3 separate regions of the Homo sapiens genome follow, and all the other regions are linked to region 3. The links are contacts of gene promoters, found by promoter capture Hi-C in blood cells and fetal thymus (Javierre and others, 2016). All regions are on one chromosome and are shown on one strand. The core of a region is centred on a gene start or on the middle of the fragment in contact, and the rest is flanking DNA. Distances in the headings are between cores, read along the strand shown. Region 1 has its middle 130 kb from the start of USP12-AS1. Region 2 has its middle 180 kb from the start of GPR12. Region 3 holds the start of GSX1 (GS homeobox 1).

The links. The method cuts DNA at HindIII sites, captures the fragments that hold promoters and counts their contacts. A CHiCAGO score of 5 or more calls a contact.
Region 1: a contact is called between a fragment that was not itself captured here and the fragment with the promoter of GSX1 in region 3, in 2 of 17 cell types (fetal thymus and naive B cells). The highest score is 5.3, in fetal thymus.
Region 2: a fragment that was not itself captured here is called in contact with the fragment with the promoter of GSX1 in region 3 in 1 of 17 cell types (erythroblasts); the score reaches 5.9 in erythroblasts.

What each region holds. Positions count from the first base shown.
Region 1 is chr13:26,996,225-27,000,696 of GRCh38, forward strand. No RefSeq gene overlaps it. Among named protein-coding and RNA genes, the nearest start is that of USP12-AS1, 130 kb to the right of the region's middle. RefSeq lists an enhancer at 1,112-1,381. The HindIII fragment of the contact is 1,292 bases long and covers 955-2,246 here.
Region 2 is chr13:26,935,029-26,939,069 of GRCh38, forward strand. No RefSeq gene overlaps it. Among named protein-coding and RNA genes, the nearest start is that of GPR12, 180 kb to the left of the region's middle. The HindIII fragment of the contact is 847 bases long and covers 1,470-2,316 here.
Region 3 is chr13:27,790,242-27,794,380 of GRCh38, forward strand. GSX1 (GS homeobox 1) reads left to right here and starts at 2,242. Exons shown (of 2, transcript NM_145657.3): 1 at 2,242-2,861; 2 at 3,325-4,139. The coding sequence starts at 2,450. The coding sequence ends at 3,707. RefSeq lists an enhancer at 2,169-2,972. The HindIII fragment of the contact is 6,142 bases long and covers 900-4,139 here.

The DNA of each region.
Region 1 (4,472 bases), core at 351-2,850, 790 kb before region 3:
AATATTTTCTCCCACTCTGTAAGTTGTCACTTTACAGTATTTATAGTATCTTTTGATGCACAAAAGTATTTAATGGTCATGAAGTCCAGTTTATTTATTTTTTTAACCTGTGCCTTTGGTGTTATACAAAGGAAATCATTAGCAAATCCAATATCATGAAGTTTTCCCTATGTTTTCTTATAAGAGTTTTATAGTAATAGCTCTTACGTTTAGGTCTTTGATTGATTTTGAGTTAATTTTTGTATATGATGTTAAGTAAGGCTGCAACATTATTCTTTTGCATGTGAATATCCAGTTTCCCCAGCACAGTTTGTTGAAAAGACTGCCCTTTCCCCATTGAATGGTCTTGACACCCTTGTTGAAATCATTCAACCATATATGACAAATCAACCAAAAATGGTTTATTGGGCTCTCTATTTCATTCCATCTGTCTATATGTCTCTCTTTATGCCACTGCCACACAGTTTTGATTAGTGTAGCTCTGTAATAAGTTTTGAAATCAGGGAGCATGTGTCCTCCAACTTTGTTCTTTTTCAAGATTTTCTTGGCTGTGGTATTTTTAGCTTTAATTTCACCATCTGCAAAATGGGGATGATATTTGCACCTGCCTCACTGGATCACGTGTGTGTGTGTGTGTGTGTGTGTGTATTAAATGAGGTAAGATGCGCAAAGCACTTAGCATTTTGCCTGGAATATAGTAAGTTATATATTTAAAATATTTAAAATTTCTATTAACATAAAATGATACAAAAATTCTTTAAGGATTTATTGCCTCTTCCAAACTGTGGAATTCCCACAACTGTGATGTATCTTTTGTGACACGTACATCTCTGAGAAGACTCATTTAGAATCTATTACTAAATACTAGGGTACATGTCAGCTTCCCTGTGTTTACTGGTCCCATCTCAGCATGAACAACTCTAGACTAGGGAAGTCACACCAGTGTTCAAACCAAGCTTTGCCACATCATAACCAAACCCCAGGATGAGACAGTCTCTCTGTGCTTTTGGTTTTTTAATATTTTTTAAATGGGCATAATAATACTTTCTTCAGAGTCTTTTAGGGTGGGGGCAGGTGAGGGTGAGTTTATGTAATGTGTATGGAAAGCCTTAGCTCTGCACCTTGCACAGTCAGCACAAAATAAATTCCTCCTGCCTGCCCATCTCTCCCTGTCCCCTTTCAATTCTGCTTCAGACAGCTTGTTTCATAGCTTTTCTGCATCTCCCATGAAAGAGGCGCATGCCACGGTCTCTGACATGAGAGAATTCACTATCTCTTTAAGGAAACAAGAATAACCTCCTAAAACAGAAGCAAAACAACCCCACATCCTGCCCTTGAGGAAGCGCCACGTCCCTAAGGGTTTGAGGAGTTGACCACTGGTTCAGCAGTCACCAGGCCCTGCTCAGCCAGGCATCTGAAGACCATGGTGTTCTATGTTCTAAAACACGTCCCAAGGGCTCATTTACATATTCATCAGGAAGTAGCAATTGAGGGTCTGCCACCCAGATTTGGACCCACCTGTCCCCCTGTCTCATACGAAGGCAGATCAGCACAAAAATACAATCCAGAATGATGAGTGCAGTGGGGTTAGAGCTGGATCTAACACCAGCCTCCATCTGCTTCTGTTTCCTGAGCTTCTTCAAGGAAAAAAAAAAAAAAAAAAGCTAGAAACACAGAATTTTCTCTCTCTCTCCTTTTTTTTTTTTTTTTTTTTTAGGCATCTGGTCCTGGCTGGAGTGCAGTGGCAAGATCTTGGCTCGCTGCAACCTCCATCTCCTGGGTTCGAGCAATTCTCCTGCCTCAGCCTCCCTAGTAGCAGAGACTACAGGCATGCGCCACTATGTCCAGCTAATTTTTGTATTCTTGCAGAGACAGGGTTTCACCATGTTGGCGAGGCTGGTCTCAAACTCCTGACCTCAAGTGATCCACTCATCTCGGCCTCTCAAAGTGCTGGGATAACAGGCATGAGCCACCACGCCCAGCTGAAACACAGAATTTTCCTAGTGAGTTAGGTCCAAGTGACAGAGCAACCCACAAGTTTTCCAGGTACCGTGTTATTGTGTGGATGCCCCCAGCTTGAGGTGCAGATTGTCTGGGAAAGCCCTGAACCCTCTCCCCTCAGGCACGAGCATGAGGCTACCTGAGGAGGGACCGGAGAGGTGGGTCAGCAGTTCCCTCCTCTCTGCTGCCCAGAAGTTCGACAGGAAAAACAACATCCTAAGGCACCAGCAGTCGTGCAAGAACAAAGCTTCCAGCCCAAGGTTCTTCGCACTTCCTCTTCCCTTGCTCCACCTAAGTCTTCGTCTCTGTGAAGTGATGTGCAGTTGCTGTGCTGGGAAACAAATCTCCTGACTCTGACATAAAAGGACGTGTTTTGTGCCTTGCTTAGTTTCAAAGGTGAAGTCAATAAAACATCGATGATGCTGGCACCATGGACAGGAATAATGCCCCCAGGGCCCCTTCTAATTATTGGCTGTAAAATTTTGTATTCCGCCTTGAAAGAATGTGAACAGTTACTCTGTTAAATTAATGGGAAAACTGTCCAAAGTATGAGATAATTAATAGTTTATCTTCTATAATATTCTATAATACAAGACAATGAGATGATTTAAAAAAAAAAACTTCAAATTTTAAAAAATAACGGCAAATGTCCTCACCATGGAGGTTCATGAACCGGGCGTCCTTGTTCACCTCCACGGCGGTGAGATTCATTATTCCCTGGGACTGTGACACAAGGTCCTCCCAGGACATGCTGGTACCAGAGAGGAAGCCAGGAAAACAGAAAGAGCAGGGAAGAGTTCATTTCGGGAGGAAAAAATACAGCCTGGAAGCATTTATTAAAACCTGGGCTTTATGTTATTCAAAATTTGAGAGGAGAAAAGATATTTACAGACTCTGCAGCAACTATATTTTTCATCAGACACCTCAAAGTATTATTCAGATGTTTCAGATGTACTGAGGTATCAAAATTCTCAAAGATATAATTTTTTTACTCACCAAACATGAAACAATGTCTATTGATCATTCAGAAATTTTGAGGACACACAAGGACTATGGGTTTACAACAAAATATGGAGACTACAACTTATAAATTGCTAGTAAAACACAGTCTCTCTCTCTCTCTCTCACACACACACACACATATGCGCAAACACACAGAACCCACAACCCATGCCAACACCACTGCCCCTTAAAAGATGTTTAATCCATGTTCTTAACCACGTTATACAGTTTCACAAACTTGGTCACAGCTCTGAATAATGGAAATAACTCCAATAACCTTTGGAAGCTTTAGATAATTCTGCAAAACATGGCGGGACTTTAACTCTAGTAAGCGCAGGACAGCTCTGGCTCTGTTCTTTTACTACTTACATGGCAGCTTCCACCCAACCAGGATGCCACACATGGCCCATCCAATCACCCCAGCACACGTGGCGGTGAACTTGGTCTTCCTGACAAAGAGAGGCAGCCAGCTCACAGAGCAGCAGAGTGTGACCCAGTCGGGGACCCAGGGCATGCTCATTCTGCCCTTGGGAAGATGGCCAGGCCCCTTCCTGTATCTCAGCTGCTTCTCTCAGACCCTAGGTTGATGATTCCGCATCTGAGTTGCTGCTTGGGTAAAAAGAGTAGGATTGTGGGGGCATACGGACCACACCATCAGATATGGGCAACAAATATCTTAAAATGAAAAAGCAGTTTGTGACCTCATGGAGTGTGGATTCATTTCTGCATAATGCTTGTGTGTGTGTGTATTATACTCTAGTATATCTGTATATTTAGAATAAATATACAGATCTGTATATTTAGAATAAATTCTGGAGGAATATTACCAAAATGTAATTAATGGTTATGGCTTTGAGGCACAATTTTAGGATGCTTTAAGTTTTTGTTTTACTTTGATATTTAATTTTTTAATGAGCATGCATTAGTTCTGAAGAAAAAATGTTTTTAAAAAATTTTAAAGAGCAAGTATGCAAAATAAGAAGTTCAAACACATCATTTTTACATATGATCAGACGTGGTTTTATTAATGGCAAAGCGAGTTACTAAAAATAAGATTTGCCCAAAGAAGCAGAAATGAGGCCCTGTGTGTTTCCTGCCATCCCATCTTTTACTCCAAAATGAATAAAGGATAGTTCATAGGATCCCAATGTTTAAGGATGCTAATTTTTCTTTAGCTTTGACCTGAAGTTATTTATTTAATGAATGAGAAGAACTAATACATTTAATGTGGAAAATCTGATCACAATTTATACATGATTTTTTGTTTTTGTGAGTTCAACACTGGACTCTCATTTTTCTGTTCTTTTTTCATGTAATATTCCATAAACGGTTGTATTCTACCATGTCATTCAATGTCAGATCATAAGCATTTTCCCACATTGTCACAAAGTCTTCAGAGACATTTTAACAGCTGTGTAATAAACAACTGTGTCTTGGGTGATTTGGCCACTTGCTTATCATTGGCCTTT
Region 2 (4,041 bases), core at 643-3,142, 860 kb before region 3:
GACAGAAAGACAAGGGAAAGTTAGTAACTTCTTAGAGATTAATCAAGTCATTATGATCAAAATGCTGATAGAAATACAGATAGTAAAGGCCACACCCCAAAACTTTGGGAGGCCAAGGTAGACATATCCCTTGAGCCCTGAAGTTCAAGACCAGCCTGGGCAACATAGCAAAACCTCATCTCTACCAAAAATAAAATAAAATTAGCTGGATGTGGTGGCACATGCCTGTAGTCCAAGCTAGTTGGGAGGCTGAGGTGGTAGGATTGATTACTTAAGCCTGGGAGACAGAGGTTGCAGTGAGCCAAGATTATGCTGCTGGACTCCAGCCTAGGTGACAGAGTGAGACCTTGTCTCAAAAAAAGTAAAAAATAAATTTTTTAAATAAGAAGCCCACACTGCCATGTTCTCAAGATGGAAATAGGGAACTTATTGGGAACTGGAGCAAAGGTCCCCCATGTTACACCCTAGCAAAAAATTTGACTGCTTTGTGTCCTTGCTGTAGAGCTTTGTGGAAGGCTGAACTTAAGAGTGATGACCTAGGATATCTGGAGGAAGAAATTTCTAAGCAGTAAAGTGCTCAGACTACTGTGTGTTTACTTCTAACTTCTTACGGTAAATTGGTAGAGAAGAAGGAAACAGGGCATAAAAATTTGGAAAATTTGCAGCCTGGCTGTGTCAGAGAGAAGGAAAGAGCATTTTCAGAAGAGGAATCCAAGGGTGCTATAGAGCAATCACTTGCTAGAGAGATTAGCACAGATAAAAGGGAGCCAGGTACTAATAGTCAAGACAATGAGGAAAAGGCCCCAGAGGCATTTCAGAAATCTTCAAGGATACTTTTCCCATCACAGGCTCAGAGGTCTCAGAAGACAGAATTATTTTTGGGGACAGGCCCAGGGTGCTGCTGTACTGTGCTGCCTTGAGATACTGATACTGCTCTTCATATCCAGGCCACTCTGGTTCCAGCTGTGGCTCAAACAACTTCAGGTTATGTTCTGGCCAACACTCTGAAGGGCACAAGCTGTAAGCCTTGGAAGCTTCCACCTGATGTTAGTCTGCAAACACACAGGATGCAAGAATGGTGGGGGCTTGGTGGCTTCTACCTAGATTTCAGAGGATATATCTGAGAGCCTGGGTACCCAAGCAGAAGCCTATCATAGGGATGGGGCCCTCACAGAGAGACTCTACTAGCGCAGTGCTGAGGGGAAATGTGGGGGAGTTGGAGCCCCCACACAGAGTCCCCACTGGGACACTGCCTACTGGGACTGTGGGAAGGGGGCTGCCGACCTATCATTGTCAGAAGTAACTTGAGACCGTACCTGGAAATCCTGCAGGCACTCAACTACAACCCATGAAAGCAGCCACAGGGGATGTGCCTAGAAAAGCAATGGGACTAGGCTGCCCAAGGCCTTGGGAGCCTACTCCTCACACCAGTGTGCCCAGGGGCATGGCATCAAAGGAGATTATTTTTAAGCTTTAAGGTTTAATGTCTGCCCTGCTGGGTTTCAGACTCGCATAGGGCCTATTACCCTTTTCTTTTGGCTGATTTCTCCATTTTGGAATCGGAGTGTCTATCCAATGCCTGCACCACCATTGTATCTTGGAAGTAAATAACTTGATTTTGATTTAATAGGCTCACAGTTGTAAGGGACTTGCCTTGAGTCTCAGAGGAGGCTTTGAACTTTGATTTTTGAGTTAATGCTGAAATGAATTAAGACTTTTGGGAATATTGGCAAGAAATGATGGTATTTTGCATGTGAGAAGGACATGAGATTTGGGGTGCCAAGGGCAGAATGCTATAGTTTGGATGCTTATCTCTCCAAATCTCATGTTGAAATTTGTTCTCCAATGTTGGAGGTGAGGCCTAGTGGGAGGTAGTTGGGTCACAGAGGCAGATCCCTCATGAATGTCTTGGTGCTGTCCTCACAGTGCTGAGTGAGTTCTTGCTCTATTAACTCCCATGAGAGCTGGTTGTTAACAGAGCCTGACATCTCCCTGCTCTCTCTCTCTTTTTCTCTCTCTTGCTTCCTCTCTCACCATGTGATCTCTGCACACCTCAATTCTTCTTCCCTTTCCACCATGAGTGGAAGCATCCTGAGTTCCTCACCAGAAGCAGATACTGGGGCCACACTTCTTGTACAGCCTGCAAAACTGTGAGACAAGTAAACCCCTTTTCTTTATAAATTACCCAGCCTCAGGTATTCCTTTATAGCAACACAAATGGACTAAAACACTTAGCAACCAAGACTACTCCTCACTGGGGCTCTTTCAGGGTTCTACTCCTGCTTCACCAGGTCCCACTGGGTCTCCTTTAGGAGAAGCTTCTCCCAGCAGCTCCCATCCCACTAGGAGTCCAAAAAAATGGCCAAAGCTTTCAGTGGACTCAGGTCCTGCAGTATCATACACAAGGCCACTCAATGATCTCTCATCTGAATAGGCCCCAACACAACCAGCTCCCCCACCACCACCACAGGGGCCAAGCCTTCCCACTCTGCAAACTTCCTGCTCTTTCTGAGGAGGATGCTGATTAGACTCTGAGCTGTTTGAGTATGGAGTCTTATGATTTAGAAGGCAGTTTCTGCTTTATTCCACTGCGGCAGCCTCTGCCAATAATGGGACACTGTTGAGAGCTGACAGGCCTCTGACAAGCGCCATTGTTTTTTCATAGGAGTTCATGTGAAAATAGCTTCATATTCTAAGCTGACATATAGTCACTTTAGGTAACTAAACTAACTTGCTCTGTGAACAGTAACAGTCAGTGCTGGGCTTCTGTTCATTCCGTTGTTCCCTATTGTTCCATGGCAGGAAATGTTGTTCATGAAACCCATCTCTCTCCTTGGGCACACAACTGGATTATGTTTCCCAGCCTCCCGTGGTTAGGGTGGTCATGTAACTGGGCTCCAGCCTGGCCCATGAAACCTTCCTGTGTATGGGTCTCTGTGCTCTTTCCCCTTCTGCCAGATCATAAAAAAGAGCATGAAAATGATTTGCAGAAGATGGGGAAGCCACTAGATTAATGATCCTGGGATGCTGAATCACTACCTGAAGGAGAACCCTTCTCTGATCTGGAAACCAGTTATAAAGTAGGTTCATCATGTACTGGTTACCAACCAACTTGTCTGAGTCCAGCGAGACAGAACACACACATGTGCAACAAGTTACATAAAGCAGATTTATGACGTGCAGAAGGCAGCAAGGGACAAAAGAGCATAAGATTCACTGTGAGCCAGACCTTATATTAGTCCATCCTCACACTGCTATGAAGAACTACCTGAGACTGGGTAATATATAAAGAAAAGAGGTTTAATTGACTCAAATTTCTGCAGGCTGTAGAGGAGGCACAACCTGGGAGGCCTCAGGAGAGAGAGAGACAGTGAAGAGGCAAGTGCCACACACTTTTTTTTAACTTTAAGTTCCAGGATACAAGTGCAGAATGTGTAGGTTTGTTGCACAGGTATACATGTGTCATGGTGGTTTGTTGCATCTATCAACCCATTGTCTAGGTTTTAAGCCCCGCATGCATTAGCTATTTGTCCTAATGCTATCCCTCCCCTTGCCCCCAACCCCCCAACTGGCCCTGGTGTGTGTTATTCCTCTCCCTGTGTCCTTGTGTTCTCACTGTTCAACTCCCACTTATGAGTGGGAACATGTGGTGTTTGGTTTTCTGTTCCTGCAATAGTTTGCTGAGAATGATGGTTTCCAGCTTCGTCTATGTCCCTGCAAAGGAAATGAACTAATTCCTTTTTACTGCTGCATAGTATTCCATGGTGTATATGTACCACATTTTCTTTATCCAGTCTATCATTGATGGGCATTTGGGTTGATTCCATGTCTTTGCTATTGTAAATAGTGCTACAGTAAGCATATGCGTGCATGTGTCTTTATAGTAGAATGATTCATAGTCCTTTGGGTACCATTTGACCCAACAATCCCATTACTGGGTATATAGCCACACACTTTTAAACCATCAGAAGTCATGAGACCTCACTCACTATCACAAGAACAGCAAGGGGGAAATCCATCCCCATGAACCAATCACCTCCC
Region 3 (4,139 bases), core at 992-3,491:
TGAAAGAAAATGTTTTCCTATTACTTAATTCAATCATAGCGAAGAGACTTGGTAAAAAGCCCACGGATTTTGCCCCAAAGTGTGACAGAGTTCTCTTTGTGTTTGCTTATCCTTCGCTGTCACACACTTTAATTCGCCTCTCTTTATCTGGCATTCAAAACTTTCTTCAATGACATTCAATAAGGTCCAGAGGCTGGAGAGAGGAAAAAAAAAAAAACCTGGTTATTCCCCCCACCCCCACCCCCACCCCCATATTCTTTCCCAGTAGCTTTGGCCTTGCTCGCATTCAGGGGCTCTTAACCCCTTCCTCCCCGGGCACGCGGGGCGGCTGCCAGTGGAGCTCCACGCTGGCCACTCGCGGGCTCCCAGCTCCGGGTGCAGTGCCCGCCCCTTGCACCCCTGGGCCCCGCCCGCCCTTGCGCCCCTCCAGCCTGCCTCTGCCCAGCGGAAAGCCCCTCTCCCCGCCCGGGTCTCGCTCTTCGCTTCCTCTCAGCGACCCAGCCCAGCTCAAATTTCCCAGAGAGCAATTAGAACGGGAATTAGGCTGCATTGATGCGTTCCGGCTGGTTTGCAGGCACCACCCTAGAGTGGGGGAGCCTTGGCGCTGAGACTCTGTCTCAGAGGGCAGCCTTGCCCCCCACTCCATGCCAAGCAACCAAGAAAACATTGAACCCTTACTCCTGCTAGATGCCATGCCCTCCATGCAGGTTACTTCTCCCATTGTCCTATTCCCTTTTACAGAAGCAGTTATTATCTCGCAAAACAAATTATCTTTGCTTTTTAATCAGTTATAATCTGTTGCTGTTGTTATTGCAAAGATGTTGCCAAGGATAAAAGCCCATGCAGATGCTTCGGGTTTGGGCAATCTTATTCCTGCGCACTGCTTCCCCAGACCCCTAAGCTTCCCCCTCCATTTCTCACAATTCCATTCAGGGCTCAGAGCAGGTGACTGCAGCGATTTGGTTCCAATAAAATCGAAAGTAAACGTCTCCTGTGAAAAGTCCCGGGCTGTAAATTAGAAATGTTTATGCTGATTTCCCATTGTATGGAAAAAGCTCCTGGGCGAAACAGCTTTGAGCCCGAGAACGATTTAAAAAGCTGGAGCTGTGTACACAGCTCTGAGCGTTTGAAGTTGTTTAACCATTGTGTGACCAGAAAGAAGAGTGACGCGGCAGGAAGAAGAAGCCGGGTCTTGGGGAGAGCGGAGGCGGGTCAGGGTGGGCAAAGGCAGCCGATGCCAGGAATACAACCGCCCTTCGCGCCGTTCCAAACTAAGAGATGGCAGCGGTTTCCCAGCGCACTGCTGGAAGTGTGCTCCAGTAGACAGGGTGTGGGCAAGATGCGCGGGCAGACAGTCCGCACTCGCCACATGTGCTGGGGTGCGAGATCTAGATCTGCGCCATCTCGGCTTTCATTCCCCATTCCCTGTCTCTGTTCGTAACGCTCAGAGACTGTTTTTCCTCTTTTACATCCACGGCCCTGTCATTTGAAGGAAAGGGCTGGTTGGCCAGCATCTACCGAACAAAGACTGGGCGTCGTAGGCAGCACCAAAATTAAGACTATTTGAGAAACTTAGAGAAAACCGAGGGACAGCGATGGGTCTAGGGCTGGATAAGGAATAATGAGCCCTTCTCCTCCCTCCCCACAGACGCCTCCTTCACGCGGGAACCCGGTCCTCCTTCTTCCGACGCAGAGAGAGAAGCGATTCCACAGGTGGAAAATCTGAGACCGGCTGGAGGGAGGTTCGGGGGTGCACGGCACTGAGCTGACAGGGCTGACTGGAGACAGCATACTTTTGGGGTGTAAGGGCGATAATAGAAAGAAGGGGACCAGGACCAAGTGGACAGAGGATATGAGGGTGTGCGCCCATGGGGATCTGTAGAAGAGAGGCCGCGGGGGTGCAAAATCAGTAAGGTGAACGGGCTGATGGCCAATGCAAAGCCAAAGGGGAGTAAGAAATAAAGAGAAAGGAAAGAATATTAAATCGCGGGAGAATGAGAAAATAAACCCGCAAAAGGGAGAGGAGGGGGCGAGGGCGCCTGTTACGGCGTGGGTGGGGTTGACAAGAATAGAGTACATTATGCAGTTCATTTAGTTAACAAGTGAAATAATGAGGAAGCGTGCAGAGTGAATGCCAAGAGAAAAGGCACAAAAACCCTATTGAGAGGCCCCGGCCGCTCCTGGCGTAGTCCATCACATGGCAATAGTCCTATTTAAGCCGCGCCGCCGGCGCCTTTCAGCACCACTAGCGCTGGCCAGCACCCCGCGCTCTTTGGGCGGTGCCCACGGCAGCAGAGGCTACTGTTTCAGCCTAGGTCTCAGCCGCGCGTTCAGCCTCCTGGGCAGAGGCAGCTGCGGGATACCGCGGCCAGGGAAAGCGCGTGGAGAGCCGAAAGGTGCGGTGGGCGCAGAGGGCGGGCTGGCTGCGGGGCGACCGCGCGCCGGGGCCATGCCGCGCTCCTTCCTGGTGGACTCGCTAGTGCTGCGCGAGGCGGGCGAGAAGAAGGCGCCCGAGGGCAGCCCGCCGCCGCTCTTCCCCTACGCTGTGCCCCCGCCGCACGCGCTGCACGGTCTCTCGCCTGGCGCCTGCCACGCGCGCAAGGCTGGGCTGCTGTGCGTGTGCCCGCTCTGCGTCACCGCCTCGCAGCTGCATGGGCCCCCCGGGCCGCCCGCGCTGCCTCTACTCAAGGCTTCCTTCCCACCCTTCGGCTCGCAGTACTGCCACGCGCCCCTGGGCCGCCAGCACTCTGCTGTGTCGCCCGGGGTCGCTCACGGCCCGGCCGCCGCTGCTGCTGCCGCCGCGCTCTACCAGACCTCCTACCCGCTGCCTGACCCCAGGCAGTTCCACTGCATCTCTGTGGGTAAGCGGGGCCGCCGCGCAGAGGGACCGGGCAGAGGTGATCCGAAGCAGGATGGAGAGCCAGAGATGGAGGAAGAGGGACCCTGGGCTTTCTGGGGGCGGTGAGGGTCATGTCGGGGACTAAGGGGGGCGCTTGGGGTGGAGTGAGGATAGAGGGCCGGGACACAACGCCAGGAGGCGGATGAGGGCAGACGTCCAGGTCCTGGAGTGTGGGCCGGGGTAAGTGAGGGCTGGGATCCAAGGCTCTCCATGAAGGGGAAGGGGTTCCAGGGCTGCATGACTCCGGGAGAATCAGGATCTCGGAGCTGGACAAGGAGCGCTCACTGTAGCTCTGCTGTGGATTGTGTTGGGGCGAAGAGATGGGTAAGAGGTCAAAGTCGTAGGATTCTGGCGACCGCCTACCAAGGGATTGGGTCCACAGCACAGAGGTCTGATCGCTTCCTTCTCTGCTCTGCCACCTCCAGACAGCAGCTCTAACCAGCTGCCCAGCAGCAAGAGGATGCGCACGGCTTTCACCAGCACGCAGCTGCTAGAGCTGGAGCGCGAGTTCGCTTCTAATATGTACCTGTCCCGCCTACGTCGCATCGAGATCGCGACCTACCTGAATCTGTCCGAGAAGCAGGTGAAGATCTGGTTTCAGAACCGCCGAGTGAAGCACAAGAAGGAGGGCAAGGGCAGCAACCATCGTGGCGGCGGCGGCGGGGGTGCCGGTGGTGGCGGGAGCGCACCGCAAGGCTGCAAGTGCGCATCGCTCTCCTCAGCCAAGTGCTCCGAGGATGACGACGAATTGCCCATGTCTCCGTCCTCCTCAGGGAAGGACGACCGGGATCTTACGGTCACTCCCTAGGCGCGTGTCTCCCTAGGTCGCCCACCCCAAGACCTCCCTGCGCCTCGGAGACTAGTCCTGGGACTCAGCGCTGATTCCCAGGCACCCGCAGCCAAACCACTGCCTGGCATGGATTTGGCACTGCTTTGCAGAGGTCCCGGGCCTGGGCAGGGCTGAGAGCTTGGCAGAGACTGGACCATGGCGTCCCCGCCCCAGGGCTCGCTCGTGTCCAAAGCCAACTCCAAGCTGTGAACACTGTAAGCGCTCGAGTCCTCCTGGGCAGTGCAGCACCGCGGCCCCCGCCCGCAAGCCTGCTTGGCGCAGCGCCTTGCTGGCAGCCGGCGCCTCCTAGCCCGCCCTCTCTGGGCTGGCTTGGGCTTCCTCGCTTACTCTACTCTCCTCCGCTCTCGGTCAAGGTCGGCGGCCTTGGATGCTCGTTCGCTTCTCTTTTTA